Linked DNA regions of Homo sapiens: regions 1, 2 and 3 are each linked to region 4. The links are contacts of gene promoters, found by promoter capture Hi-C in blood cells and fetal thymus (Javierre and others, 2016). All regions are on one chromosome and are shown on one strand. Each heading gives the region's core, a stretch centred on a gene start or on the middle of the fragment in contact. The rest is flanking DNA. Distances are from core to core; before and after follow the strand shown.

Region 1 (3,074 bases), core at 315-2,814, 440 kb after region 4:
AAATCTGAACACTAATTGGATATTAGATTATCAAACATTAATTTTGTTGTTATAAAAGTATTTTGGGTTTTAAAAACATGAGCCCTTCCTTGTATACAAACTTTTGGAACATTCATGAGTGAAAATGATGTCTGGATGTGCTTAAACACCCCTTCTCACCCTCAAAAGTCAATTGAGCATTACTGGCCACACTTCATAATTTTTAGAACTGAATAATGTGTACTGGGTTCATTATATTATTTTCTCCGAATTTTTTGAAAAAAATTCCAGTAGAAATACAGGAAAAGAACTGTAAATTAAAGTGGTGGGTGTAATGATTTCATTAGAGTATTCACTATACTTTTAAGTGAATGTTTTGACTAAAAAAATAAAATTAAAAACACAGACATATAGGGGTGAAAAGAAGGAAATGTGAAGGAACAAAGATGCTATCATGTGGTGATTATGATGAACACAGCATACATCCACTAGCCAGTAACTTTGAGACAGAAGTGAACAAATACTATGGTGTTATGAAAAGAAAATAAAACTAGGGACCCCAGTCCACTCTGCCAAAAGGAAAAACATTAAGCTGAAAGCTAAGTCATGCAAGAAGCTGCCTTTCCTTTTGTTCTTAAGGAGATAGCTACAGATAAAACGTTAAATATCTCCATAGTAGCTACTCTATGCACACCGTATCTTATGTAAAGTGCTGATTTACTGAGTGTGAGATGAATGCATAACTATTTTCCTACCTGCTCCTTTTCTCTTGTCACAGGTGGATTACCACACCTTTCCTCTTTCCCCTCCAGCCTACTTTTCCTTTTTAAACAATGAGGCTCTCAAACTCATCTTTGGGGAAAGCCACTGGCCTCTTTCTGTGGCATGTCCTCAACTGTGGCAAAATAAACATCTAAATTGGTACTTGACTCTGATACTTTTTGGTTTACATGTAGTTGGAGAAGAAAAACAGTGAAATTTCTTCCTCTGACGGCAGTTGAAAGGTGATTTAAAACATTTTTGTTATTTCTTTCTATATACTTACATAAATAGTTTACCTTTCATGTCCCATCTGTGCTATCTTTACCTATTCCAAAGTCACAAAGATATTCCCCTACATTTACTCTTAGAAGTTTAAATATGTTGTTTTTGATGGTAGTATAAATATGTATTTCATTTTTTAACTGTTTGCTGCTAGGTTACAGAAATACAAGTGCTTTTTAAAAATACTGACCTTATTTTCTGAAGTTCCTAAACTGTGTGTTACTAGTATCTAGTTGTTTAACTATTCTTCCATGTACATACTCACATCTTCTGTGAATAAAAAATTTTTTTTTCTGTTTCAACGTTTATGCCTTTTATTCCTTTTTAATACCTTAACAGGTTAGCTAGTTATTCTAGGATAATGCTAAATAAGAGTGATAAGAATCAACATTAATGCTTGTTCCTGATCTTAGTGTGAACACACTTCACCATTAAATATGATGATTGCAGCCAGGCTGTCACACATAACCTTTGTTTCATTAAGGGAAATTCTTTCTATTCCTCATTTACTGAGAATTTTTACCCTGAATAGGTGTGAAATGTTATCAAGTATTTTTCTGCATTAAGATAGTAATGTAGGTTTTTCTCTTTTGCTCCCTGAAAGCAGTGAAAGGAAAATAAAAACGTTGGAACCCAAACCACTCTGCCAAAAGAAAAATATTAAGCTGAAAGCTGATTCATCCAAGAAGCTACCTTTCCTTTTGTTCCTAAGCGGAGAACTACAGATAGGTTAAGTAAGGGTAAGTATCTCTGCCGGGCGCGGTGGCTCACGCCTGTAATCCTAGCACTTTGGGAGGCTGAGGCGGGCCTCCTCCTCGTGGTCAGGAGATTGAGACCGTCCTGGCTAACACCGTGAAACCCGTCTCTACTGAAAATACAAAAAAATACAAAAAATAGCCGGGAGTGGTGGCGGCGCCTGTAGTCCCAGCTACTCGGGAGGCTGAGGCAGGAGAATGGCGTGAACCCGGGAGGCAGAGCTTGCAGTGAGCCGAGATCGCGCCACTGCGCTCCAGCCTGAGCAAGAGTGAGACTCCGTCACAAAAAAAAAAAAAAAAAAAATTAGTCGGGTGTGGTGGCGAGCGCCTGTAGTCCCAGCTACTCAGGAGTCTGAGGCAGGAGAATGGTGTGAACGTGGGAGGCAGAGCTTGCAGTGAGCGGAGACCGTGCCACTGCACTCCAGCCTGGGCAACAGAGCAAGACTCCGCATCAAGAAAAAAAAAAAGTTAAATATCTCCACAGGTTGCTTACTCTATGTTCACTCTATCCTCGGTTTTTTGGGAACAAACTCTATTTGGCTAGAATATATCATCCTTTTCATGTATTGCTGGATACTACTTGTCCATATTTTGGTGAGAATTCTTGACTATTTTCCTCTGGAATGATTACATGTAAGGGCACATGAGAACTCTTGTTGAAATGTTCTGTATCTTGATTGAGGTGATAAGTGACCTGTGTATACTTTAAAGAGTCAAAACTCATTATACAGTTAAAAGCAGTGCTTCTTACGGTATGCAAGTTACACCTCAACACTGATTAAAAATCCTCTCAGAGATCAAGTATATATGGGTAAAATAACAAGACATCTGGATTTGTTTGAAATACTTTGGCACATAAACAGGGGGAAGGGATAAATCTAACAGAACTACCCATGGTTTTAAAATGATCAAATCTGGATGAAGGCAACATGGGGATTCCTATTACCATCTCCCAATTTTGCTACCCATTTGAGATTTTTCATAACACTAGTTTACAGAAAAAGCATTAATCATATTGCTAATTCTATGCTTACCAAAAAATTGGCTAAAATAATCTTATAGGAGCTAACTTCATTTGAAAATACTCAAAAGTCCCCAGCATTCAAGAAACTGCCCAATCAAGAAAAAGCCACATTAAAAACAGAAGGCAGCTGGCTGGGCACAGTGGCTTATTCCTGTAATCCCAGCACTTTGGGAGGCTGATGCATGTGGATCGCTTGATCCCAGGAGTTCGGGACCAGTTTGGGCAACATGGCAAAGGCTCATCTCTACAAAAAATATAAACATTAGCTGGAT
Region 2 (3,236 bases), core at 665-3,164, 270 kb before region 4:
TACCAACTGAAAGAGAGACATTGCCAGAATTATTCAAAAAACAAGACCCAACTCTATGTTGTGTACAAGAAACCCACTTTAAATATAAAGACATATATAGATTAAAAGTGAAGGGATGAAGAAAGTACATCATGTTAACACTAACCAAAAGCAACCCAGAATAGCTGTATTAAATTCAGACAGAGAACACTTCAGACCAAGGAAAGTTATCAGGGATAAAGAGGAGCATCACACAATGACAAAGGGGTCAATGCCTCAAAAAAACATAAGAACCTTTAATGTGTATATGCTTCACAATAGAGCACCAATATGTGAGGCAAAAACTGATGAAACTGCAAGGAGAAACAGAATCCACTATCACAGTTAGAGACTTCAACAATCTAAACAAGAATAATCACATGATCATATCAACAGATACAGAAAAAAACATCTAGTAACATCCAACACCCATTCATGATTAAAAACTCTCAGCAAGCTGGGAGTAGAGGGGAAACTTTCTTAACTTGATCAAGAATATCTATAAAAAAATCTACATATAACATCATACTTATGGATGACAAACTAGAAGCTTTCCTGCTAAGATCAAGAACAAGGCAAAGATGCCCCTATCACCACTCCTTTTCAGTATCATACTTGAAGACCTAGCTAATGCAGTAAGACATGAAAAGGAAACAAAAGGTATACAGATTGAGAAGAAAGAAATAAAACTTTCTTTGTTTGCAAGTGACATAATTGTCTAGATAGAAAATCTGAAAGAATCAACAACAACAAAAAACCCTCCTGGAACCAAGCAATTATAGCATGGTTGCAGGATATTGCAAGATATTGACTCACCTTCCTTTATACTAACAATGAACAAATGGAATTTGGAATTGAAAACACAATACTATGTACATTAGCATCCAAAAGATTGGCATACTTAGGTATAAATATAATATAATATACACGAGGTCTATATGAGGAAAACTAGAATATTCTGATGAAAGAAATCAAAGAACTAAATAAATGGAGAGATATTCCATGTTCATGGACAGGAATACTCAATATTGTCAAGATGTCAGTTTTTCCCAACCTTAATCTATAGATTCAATGCAATCCCAATCAAAATCCCAGCAAGTTATTTTGTAGATACAGACAAATGAATCCTAAAGTTCATATGGAGAGGGCGAAGACTCAAAATATCCAATACAATATTGAAGGAAAAGAATAAAGTCAGAGGACTGAAACTACTCAACTTCAAGATTCTCTATAAAGCTACAGTAATCAAGACAATGTGGTATTAGCAAAAGAATAGAAAAATAAATCAATAGAACAGATAAAATTTTTAGCCCAGAGACAGACCCACATAAATACAATCAACTGATCTTTTGACAAAGGAGTAAAGGCAATGCATAATGGAGAAAAGACAGTGTTTTCCACAAATGGTGCTGGAACAAATTTGTTTGCATCCACATGCAAACAAATAAATCTAGACACAAACCTTATACCCTTCACAAAAATGGAATTCAAAATGGATCATAGACCTAAATATAAAATACAAAACAAATTCCTAGAACATAGGAGAAAATCTAGGTATGATGATGAATTTTTAGATATAACACCTAGGGTATGATGATGAATTTTTAGATATAAAACCAAGGTGAGATACATGAAGAAATAATTAATAAGTGAAACTTCATTAAAATTAAAAACTCTTGCTCTACAGAAGATACTGTCAAAAGAATGAGAAGCCACAGACTGGAGAAAATATTGGCAAACAACATGTCTGATAAAGAACTATTATCCAAAATACACAAACAACTCTTAAAACTCAACAATAAGAAAATGAACAACCCAATTACAAAAATGGGCAAAAGGCCTGAACAGACACATCACCAAGAAGATATACAGATGGCAGGTAGGCATATGAAGATATTCCACATCAAATATCATCAGAGAAATGCAAATTAAAACAACGAGACACCACTATACACCTATTAAAAGGGCCAAAATCCAAAACACTGACACCACCAAATGCTGGCGAGGACATGGAGCATCAGGAACTCTCACTAATTGTTAATGGGAAGGCAAATGGTACAGCCACTTTGGAAACGCTTGGTGGTTTCTTACAAAACTTAACTCTTACCATACAATCCAGCAATTATGCTTTTCGGTATTTACCCAAATGAGCTGAAAACTTAGGTCCACACAAAAACCTGCCCACAGATGTTTATACCAGCCTTATTCATAACTGCCAAAACTTAGCAGCAACCAAGATGTACTTCAGTAGGTAACTAAACTGTGGCACATCCATACAATGGAATATTACTCAGTGCTAAAAAGAAATGAGCTATCAACCCATGGAAAGACATGGAGGAATTTTAAATAAATGCATACTACTAAGTGAAAGATGCCAATCTGAAAAGGCTACATACTGTATGAGTCCAGCTACATAACATTCTGGAAAAGGCAAAACTATGGAGATGGCAAAAAGATCAGTGGTTGCCATGGGTTAAAAGAAAAGGGTGGAATGAACAGGCAGAGCAAAGAGGATTTTCAGGGCAGTGAAAACACCCTGTAAGATACCATAACAGTGGATACATGGCATTTGTCCAAACCCATAGAATGTATAAAACCAAGAGTGAACCCTACCGTAAACTACAGACTCCGAGTACTATTGACGTATTGATGTGAGTACATCACTTGTAACAAACTTACCCTTGTGGTGGGGGATGTTGATCATGTGGGAGGCTGTGCATGGCATGTGTGCAGAAAAAGTATTTGACGAAATGCAACACCCAATCGTAATAAAAACTCTTTTTCAGAAAATCTCTGTACCTTCTGCTCAATTTTGCTGTGAACCTAAAACTGCTCTTAAAAATAAAGTCTACTTAAAAACAAATAAAATAAAGCCTGCTATAGTTGGTGGTTACTCTCTCCCAGCACTCCCCAGAGCTAGTACCTCCTTCCACTGTCAGCAACCTGCCAGCCAGCCCCCAGGACAGCTTCCAAATGAGGTGGCAGAGACAGCAGTGGCAGGTCCCTGCGGCTCACACCCACCAGAGAGGACCCCACTGTGCCTGGCCAAGAAATGTCACCAGCTCATCAAAGAAAGAGAAAAAGCTGGGACCTGGTGACAAAGTACAATGAGAAGTAACCCAGTGAAAAAGAAAAAGACAGGAAAGTGCTCTCTTTGGGAGGTAAGATCATTGGTTTGCACTTCAACTGCTGTTAAGTTTCAGTTTTAAAGAGCAAGA
Region 3 (3,037 bases), core at 439-2,938, 290 kb before region 4:
CACAGCAGTGGGAATGGCCTCCTCTGGGGCCCTCGCTCTGAGTTGACACTGACGTCCTGGCAAGGCCTCCCTGCAGTGCCCAGCTATGAAGCCTGTCCCCTCCCATTCCCCAATCACCCTGCCCTCAACACCCTGGGGCCCAGCTTTCCATCCAGTCCATAGCAGGCACAAAGACGCACGTCCTGCAGCCTCAGGCACAGATACTAGGGGACATGACTGTGGGGGAGGCCCCCGATGCTGCTTCCCCATCTTTTATCCAAATATAGCCCTCCTTGGTACAGGAAGGGCAGGCCTCCCCGACCCCAACGAAGCTTGGGGACACAGTGCACTGTCACTCATAGGAGTGAAAAAGACTGTCCCTGGAAAGTCAGGAGGCAGCGCAGGGGTACCAAGTGCTGCAGGCTGCCAGGAGGGGTGCCCTCCTGGGGGCTGGGCCTGAGACTGAGAGCCAGGCGGGCAAAAGGTCTTGAGACGAGGACGGCGCCATCTCCTTCCGGTGGGAGGCACTACCTCCATCTACCGCCCAGAGGGCCAGGCTGGGGTTGACTTTCCCTACATCCTAAGGCTACATCCCGTACTGAGGATCTCACCTGTGGGACATGTTCCGCTTTTAACACTTACGTTGGAAATAACCCTGGGTTCTGAAAGTGGGGGACAGGTTCATTGCACCCCCTGGCACCTGGTCCTCAGCTCTGAAAATGGAGCAATAAATGCACTGCAGGGGTGTCGGGGGGGACAGGTGAGGGGGCAGGTGAGGGGGGCAGGTGAGGGGAGCAGGTGAGAGGGGGCAGGTGAGGGAGAACAGGTGAGGGGGCAGGTGAGGGGGGCAGGTTAGGGGTGGGTAGGGTGGGGGCAGGTAAGCAGGGACAGGTGACAGGGGTAGGTAAGAGGGGGAGCAGGTGAGGGGTGGGTAGGGCCAGGACACACACGCCAGCAGAGAACTGAGCATCACAGAGGCATGAGGCGTGACACCTGGACTGAAGGCCCCACTAACATCAGTGTTCTTGTCTGGCTCTTTGTCTCTTTCAGATACTTGTTCCCAGGACCTTAACTCACGTGTGAAGCCAGGATTTCCTAAAACAATAAAGACCAATGACCCAGGAGTCCTCCAAGCAGCCAGATACAGTGTTGAAAAGTTCAACAACTGCACGAACGACATGTTCTTGTTCAAGGAGTCCCGCATCACAAGGGCCCTAGTTCAGGTAACGGTCTGGGTTCTGGTCACATATCACGGACACCCCTAGGAAGCCGAGCTGCTACAACGCGACACCTAGGAGAGCAGGGCGGATATAATGTGAAGTCCCTGCTGAGTGCAGAGCTCTGAGCAGAAAGCAGATGCACAAGGGGTGGGAGTGGACAGCAGCAGCTGAGGCCAGCATCCCCCAGGGCCAAGCGCAAAGGTTACACAAAGCACACGGCTCCTGGGTGGTTACCAGGCCCCTGGCCCAGAGCCTACTAGGCATGGGGTAAGGAGGTGCCAGGGCCCTAATGGGGCTCCTGAGGCAGGCGCCAAGGCTGATGGGGGAGAAAGCCGCTGTCCGAGGAGCTGCCCCTGCTGGGACCAGGGTCCTCACCCGGCCTCACCCCTCACGTGCCCTGCAGCCCAGAGGTGTCTTTGCCACTTTCCCCCTGGAGTGCTCACTCACATCCCAGAGTCCAAGAGCTCTGCCCAAGCCACTGCCCTTTCCCTGACTCATTCCTACTGCGCCCGCTCAGCACCCTCCCTCCTAGAGGACCCTTGTCTGTGTCCTGAGAACACCCACTTGCTAATGTGGGATGCAGGCTGTGGATGACACCCACCACCGTGTGCTGGTGCCTGTAAGGGGCAGAAGCAGCCCTGTCCAAGGCAGTCTTCACAGTGTTCATGGTTATGCTGGGTCACAGGGAGGGGTGATTTTTATAACCTAATTATTTTTGACAATTGCAAACTTGTGAAGGACAGCATGTTTTCATATGAGAATCGTGGGTGTGTAGCCAGGGTCCTCGCTCTGCAGCCTGGCCTCAGGGACAGGGGATCTTCCCTGGGTGATGCAGGCCCTCCCTCCTTCTCCGGGTAGGCCAGTGGGATGCCCTGGTTCTGAGTCCTTGGGGTTCTCTGGGAGGGGACTTGGAGGTTGTCTCTCTCTAGCTTGGTGATATTGGGGACAACGTAATTCCCCTAAAGCTGAGACTAAAACCTGAGGAATTTTTCTTCAACTCCTCTAAGACCACAAATGAGAATGAACAAGGCGGCTGCCATATCCAAGTGGAGAAGGGCTGTCCAGAAACTCAAAACTCCCGACCCCAGGAATGGAGAGGGGAAGCCCGCAGACCCCAGGCCTGACACAGAGGCCACAAGAAACAGCCATCATGGGGCTGGAGTGAGGGCTGCAGGGCGGGCCCAGCAGGGCATGCAGGAGACCTAGTGTGACGTCCCTCCTGAGTGCAGAGCTCTGGCCAGAAAGGAGACATCTGTCTCAGGAAGGGGCACAAACCCAGCACGGGGCAGGGAGGGGAGTGGGAGGGGTCTGCAGGCTCTGCCGTAAGCCCGAAGCATTGCCCCAAGATGCTGGCCCACTTCCCTTCTCCTCGGTGGGCACCTGCACCACTGTCTTGAGGCCCTGCTTCCTAGTGGAGAAGCCTGCCCTCCCTCCCCTGTGCCCAGTAACCCAGTCCCTTTGCTCCCTCCAGATAGTGAAAGGCCTGAAATATATGCTGGAGGTGGAAATTGGCAGAACTACCTGCAAGAAAAACCAGCACCTGCGTCTGGATGACTGTGACTTCCAAACCAACCACACCTTGAAGCAGGTAAAGCAGCAGGCCCTTCTCTCAGATGTGCCCTCTCTTCCCCAGCCCACTCCCTCCCAGGACTGTGAAAAACACCGTCACCACGTCTCTAACGCAGCGCCCCAAACCTCACCCCTGAGGAAGCCAGGCCTCCCAGACTCCCGCACGACTGAGGATCCGGGAGAACAGGAGGTAGAGCCTGTGCCAGGAGCTCCTCAGATGACATCCTCCCGTCCCAGAGGCGGAGACACAGCTCTGGAAGAGCGTCCTG
Region 4 (2,896 bases), core at 384-2,883:
TCCATTGTCAAGCGGGGGTAATAGCAGGCTATTTGCAGGGATCAGGAGTTAATACGTGTACACTGCAAGTAATGATCAATAAGTGTCAGCGCCTCCATTCTTTGCCAGGTGTGCACCACAGCTGGGGGATTAAACTTTACCACACCACAGCAGATAACATATTTGCATAACTTGCTTTTTGTCTTCTTAAGCTTTCCTTGAACTCAATTCCCCAGAGTGGTAGAAGTGGTCATAGGGCACTATCATTTTTATGACTTCTGAATTGCCAGATCACCCTCAGAGAGATTGCATCAGTGTTCGGAGCTTGCAGCCAAGCTCGACCCCACAGCCCTGCCATCTGTGCCCGAAGTTCGATCTTGTTGGCTCCAGAATCCCTAGGACATAGTGCAGGAGTGAATCCCGAGCTGGAGCTGGGTGGGCTGTGGGGTCATTCCAGATTGATTAACCTCCGACCTCTGAAGTCTGCAGCTGGAAGGGGCTCCAGGTAAGAAGATAACTTTGAAGCATCACACCAGGAAACCTACTGCACCTGGACTTTCATGACATTTCCTGCGGGCAATTTTTACCTCCACGAAATTCAGTAACCTTTGCAGCCCCTTCAGCCCAAGACCACCAGGAGCAAACCTGTGGTCCACAAAATCGGGTGTACTGACCCACTGCAATGAGGGAGCGCCTCCCAAGAACGAAGGGAAAGGCAGAGTTTGAAGGGGTTGAGGGAAGGCAGAGTTTAGGTGACCTTTACATGAAGCAGGGTTCCCACAGGCTGAGGCCAGCAGGACTGTGTTCCGCGGGGCCAAGTGTGGGAAGCTGTGTGCAGACGCCCCCTATCTGGAGCTGCAGCCTGGATTGGGATGACAGAGGCTAAGTCTCGGTTAGTGGCTGAGCTCCCCGGCCAGACGGGCATGTTTCCTTCTCCCTGCTGTAATCTCAAAGCGGACAGCGTCTGCCAGGTGGTTTCGGGAACAGGGTTTCTCCGAGGGCTAGGGGGCTGCGGTCCCTCCGAGGCGGGGTCGTGGTGGCATTTGGCTGTGGCTGCCTCGCGCCCTCGGGAACGGGCGTCTCCAGCTCGCTGGCAGCTGGTTTTCTCCACGTCTGTCATCGGCCTGGAGTGGCAAGCAAATAGCTGGTATTTTCAGAGCCGCCCTGCCCCGGACAGAGAAGACCGGGCCCAGCAGGCGTTGGTGGATGCCTTTCAAGCTGTAATCAGTTTCCCCGAACGTGTACCAGGTCTCGGCCACAGCCCGAGCCCAGCGCGCTCCCGCGGGGCACCTGGTGACCCGGTGCAGGGCGGGAGGGCCGGTCCCAGGAACCCGAGGGCCGGAGGGCAGGGCCCCCTTCCCGCACCGTCCCCGGGCTGGCAGGAGCGGCCACGACGGCACGCTCCGAGGCCCCGGGTCCCTTGCCCCCTCCAGTCGCTCCCACTTTCTGCCGGGCTTGCCCAACGAGGGGGCAAACACCACGCTCAGGTGGCGTGGACAGGTCGCTGCCGCCTCGGACTACACCAGAGATCTCAGCTATGAGCCTGGACGCCCGCCCCGCCCTCCCGAGGCCCCGCCCCGCCCCCCGAGGCCCCGCCCCGGCGCGGCGCGCAGGCGCGGTCCATCCCGCCCGCAGAGCCGCAGTGCCGGGCGCCAGAGCAGCGGCGCCAGAGCAGCTGCACCATCCCGGCGTTCGCGTGTGCCGCCGCTTTCCTCCTCCATCTCTTTTCCTCCGCCTCCGCCGGCGCGATGGCGAAGCCGCTGACGGACAGCGAGAAGCGGAAGCAGATCAGCGTGCGCGGCCTGGCGGGGCTAGGCGACGTGGCCGAGGTGCGGAAGAGCTTCAACCGGCACTTGCACTTCACGCTGGTCAAGGACCGCAATGTGGCCACGCCCCGCGACTACTTCTTCGCGCTGGCGCACACGGTGCGCGACCACCTCGTGGGCCGCTGGATCCGCACGCAGCAGCACTACTACGAGCGCGACCCCAAGGTGAGGCGCTGCCCCGCCCTGTGCGCCCGTGCCCGCTGAGAGGGCGCCGGTCCCGGAGCCGCGCCAGCGGGGGTCTCTGCGGGGCGGCCCGTCGGGCGTTACCTGCGCCCCTAGCCGGCCGGCGGCCAGGCACAGCCGACTGGGGAGTCGCCTGGAAGCCGCAGTCGGCGGGGCCCGGGCGTCCCCTGCGCAGGGCCGCGGCCACGGGTCCGCCCCACTGGGAGCCCGCGCCTGGCGGGGTCCGCCGTCCCCCGCAGATGATGCTGAGCCCGGGAGCCTGGCGGACGTTCCCGGTCTCTTTCTGGCCGTGCGCTTCCGCGCTGGCTGCAGAGCCGGTGCTCCCCGCCCCTGCCTCCAGCCACTCTTTGTTTTCCTGCAGCAGCCTGTGGGAGAAAATGGGACTGGAACCAGGCCTGGGCAGCCTTGTGGGTTGGAATGGGGTGAGCTCGGTAATCTGCAGGGAATTGTGAGACTTTTTTTTGTGTACGCTGCTTAGAAGAAAATCACTGAAGATGCCTGCTTCACGCAGGGAGGGGTACGAAGCTCAGAGATGGAGATGGAGCCCTCGAAGAAGGCTCTGTCTTAGAGGTTCCCACACCTCCCTTGGAGAAATTTGCTTGGGTTGAAGTTGACAGAGATCATCTTACTAATTGTTACTTTTTATATCTTGCAAAAATTTGTTTGAGTAGTGAAACAAAGTCACTGATTGTCCCCGTTACTCTTAACCATGTTTACTATGGGCCTGTGTTCTTGCTGTGTTTTTGGTATTCCTAAATATACATACACATTTTTAAAAAGTATAATGCACATACAGTTTTTTAGATTTTCTGTTTCATTCGTAAACATTTGTAACTTTTTCACTGATAAACAGCTTTGCAGGTCAATGGATAGGATGGTAGTTTTCAGTTTGATAGGTACATGGTAGT

The links. The method cuts DNA at HindIII sites, captures the fragments that hold promoters and counts their contacts. A CHiCAGO score of 5 or more calls a contact.
Region 1: a contact is called between a fragment that was not itself captured here and the fragment with the promoter of PYGB in region 4, in 1 of 17 cell types (monocytes). The highest score is 6.8, in monocytes.
Region 2: a contact is called between a fragment that was not itself captured here and the fragment with the promoter of PYGB in region 4, in 6 of 17 cell types (monocytes, neutrophils, M2 macrophages and 3 more). The highest score is 9.1, in monocytes.
Region 3: a fragment that was not itself captured here is called in contact with the fragment with the promoter of PYGB in region 4 in 1 of 17 cell types (neutrophils); the score reaches 5.6 in neutrophils.

Annotation. Positions count from the first base shown.
Region 1 is chr20:25,687,073-25,690,146 of GRCh38, forward strand. The region is part of intron 1 of ZNF337 (zinc finger protein 337); the gene reads right to left. Among named protein-coding and RNA genes, the nearest start is that of ZNF337, 8.2 kb to the right of the region's middle. The HindIII fragment of the contact is 4,376 bases long and covers 1-3,074 here.
Region 2 is chr20:24,974,530-24,977,765 of GRCh38, forward strand. The region is part of intron 3 of APMAP (adipocyte plasma membrane associated protein); the gene reads right to left. Among named protein-coding and RNA genes, the nearest start is that of APMAP, 17 kb to the right of the region's middle. The HindIII fragment of the contact is 2,696 bases long and covers 567-3,236 here.
Region 3 is chr20:24,956,258-24,959,294 of GRCh38, forward strand. CST7 (cystatin F) reads left to right here. Exons shown (of 4, transcript NM_003650.4): 2 at 1,030-1,202; 3 at 2,671-2,787. Among named protein-coding and RNA genes, the nearest start is that of CST7, 8.5 kb to the left of the region's middle. The HindIII fragment of the contact is 2,759 bases long and covers 310-3,037 here.
Region 4 is chr20:25,246,452-25,249,347 of GRCh38, forward strand. PYGB (glycogen phosphorylase B) reads left to right here and starts at 1,634. Exons shown (of 20, transcript NM_002862.4): 1 at 1,634-1,970. The coding sequence starts at 1,728. RefSeq lists silencers at 666-919, 938-1,017, 1,198-1,387, 1,398-1,587, 1,898-2,277 and an enhancer at 1,668-1,747. The HindIII fragment of the contact is 3,937 bases long and covers 190-2,896 here.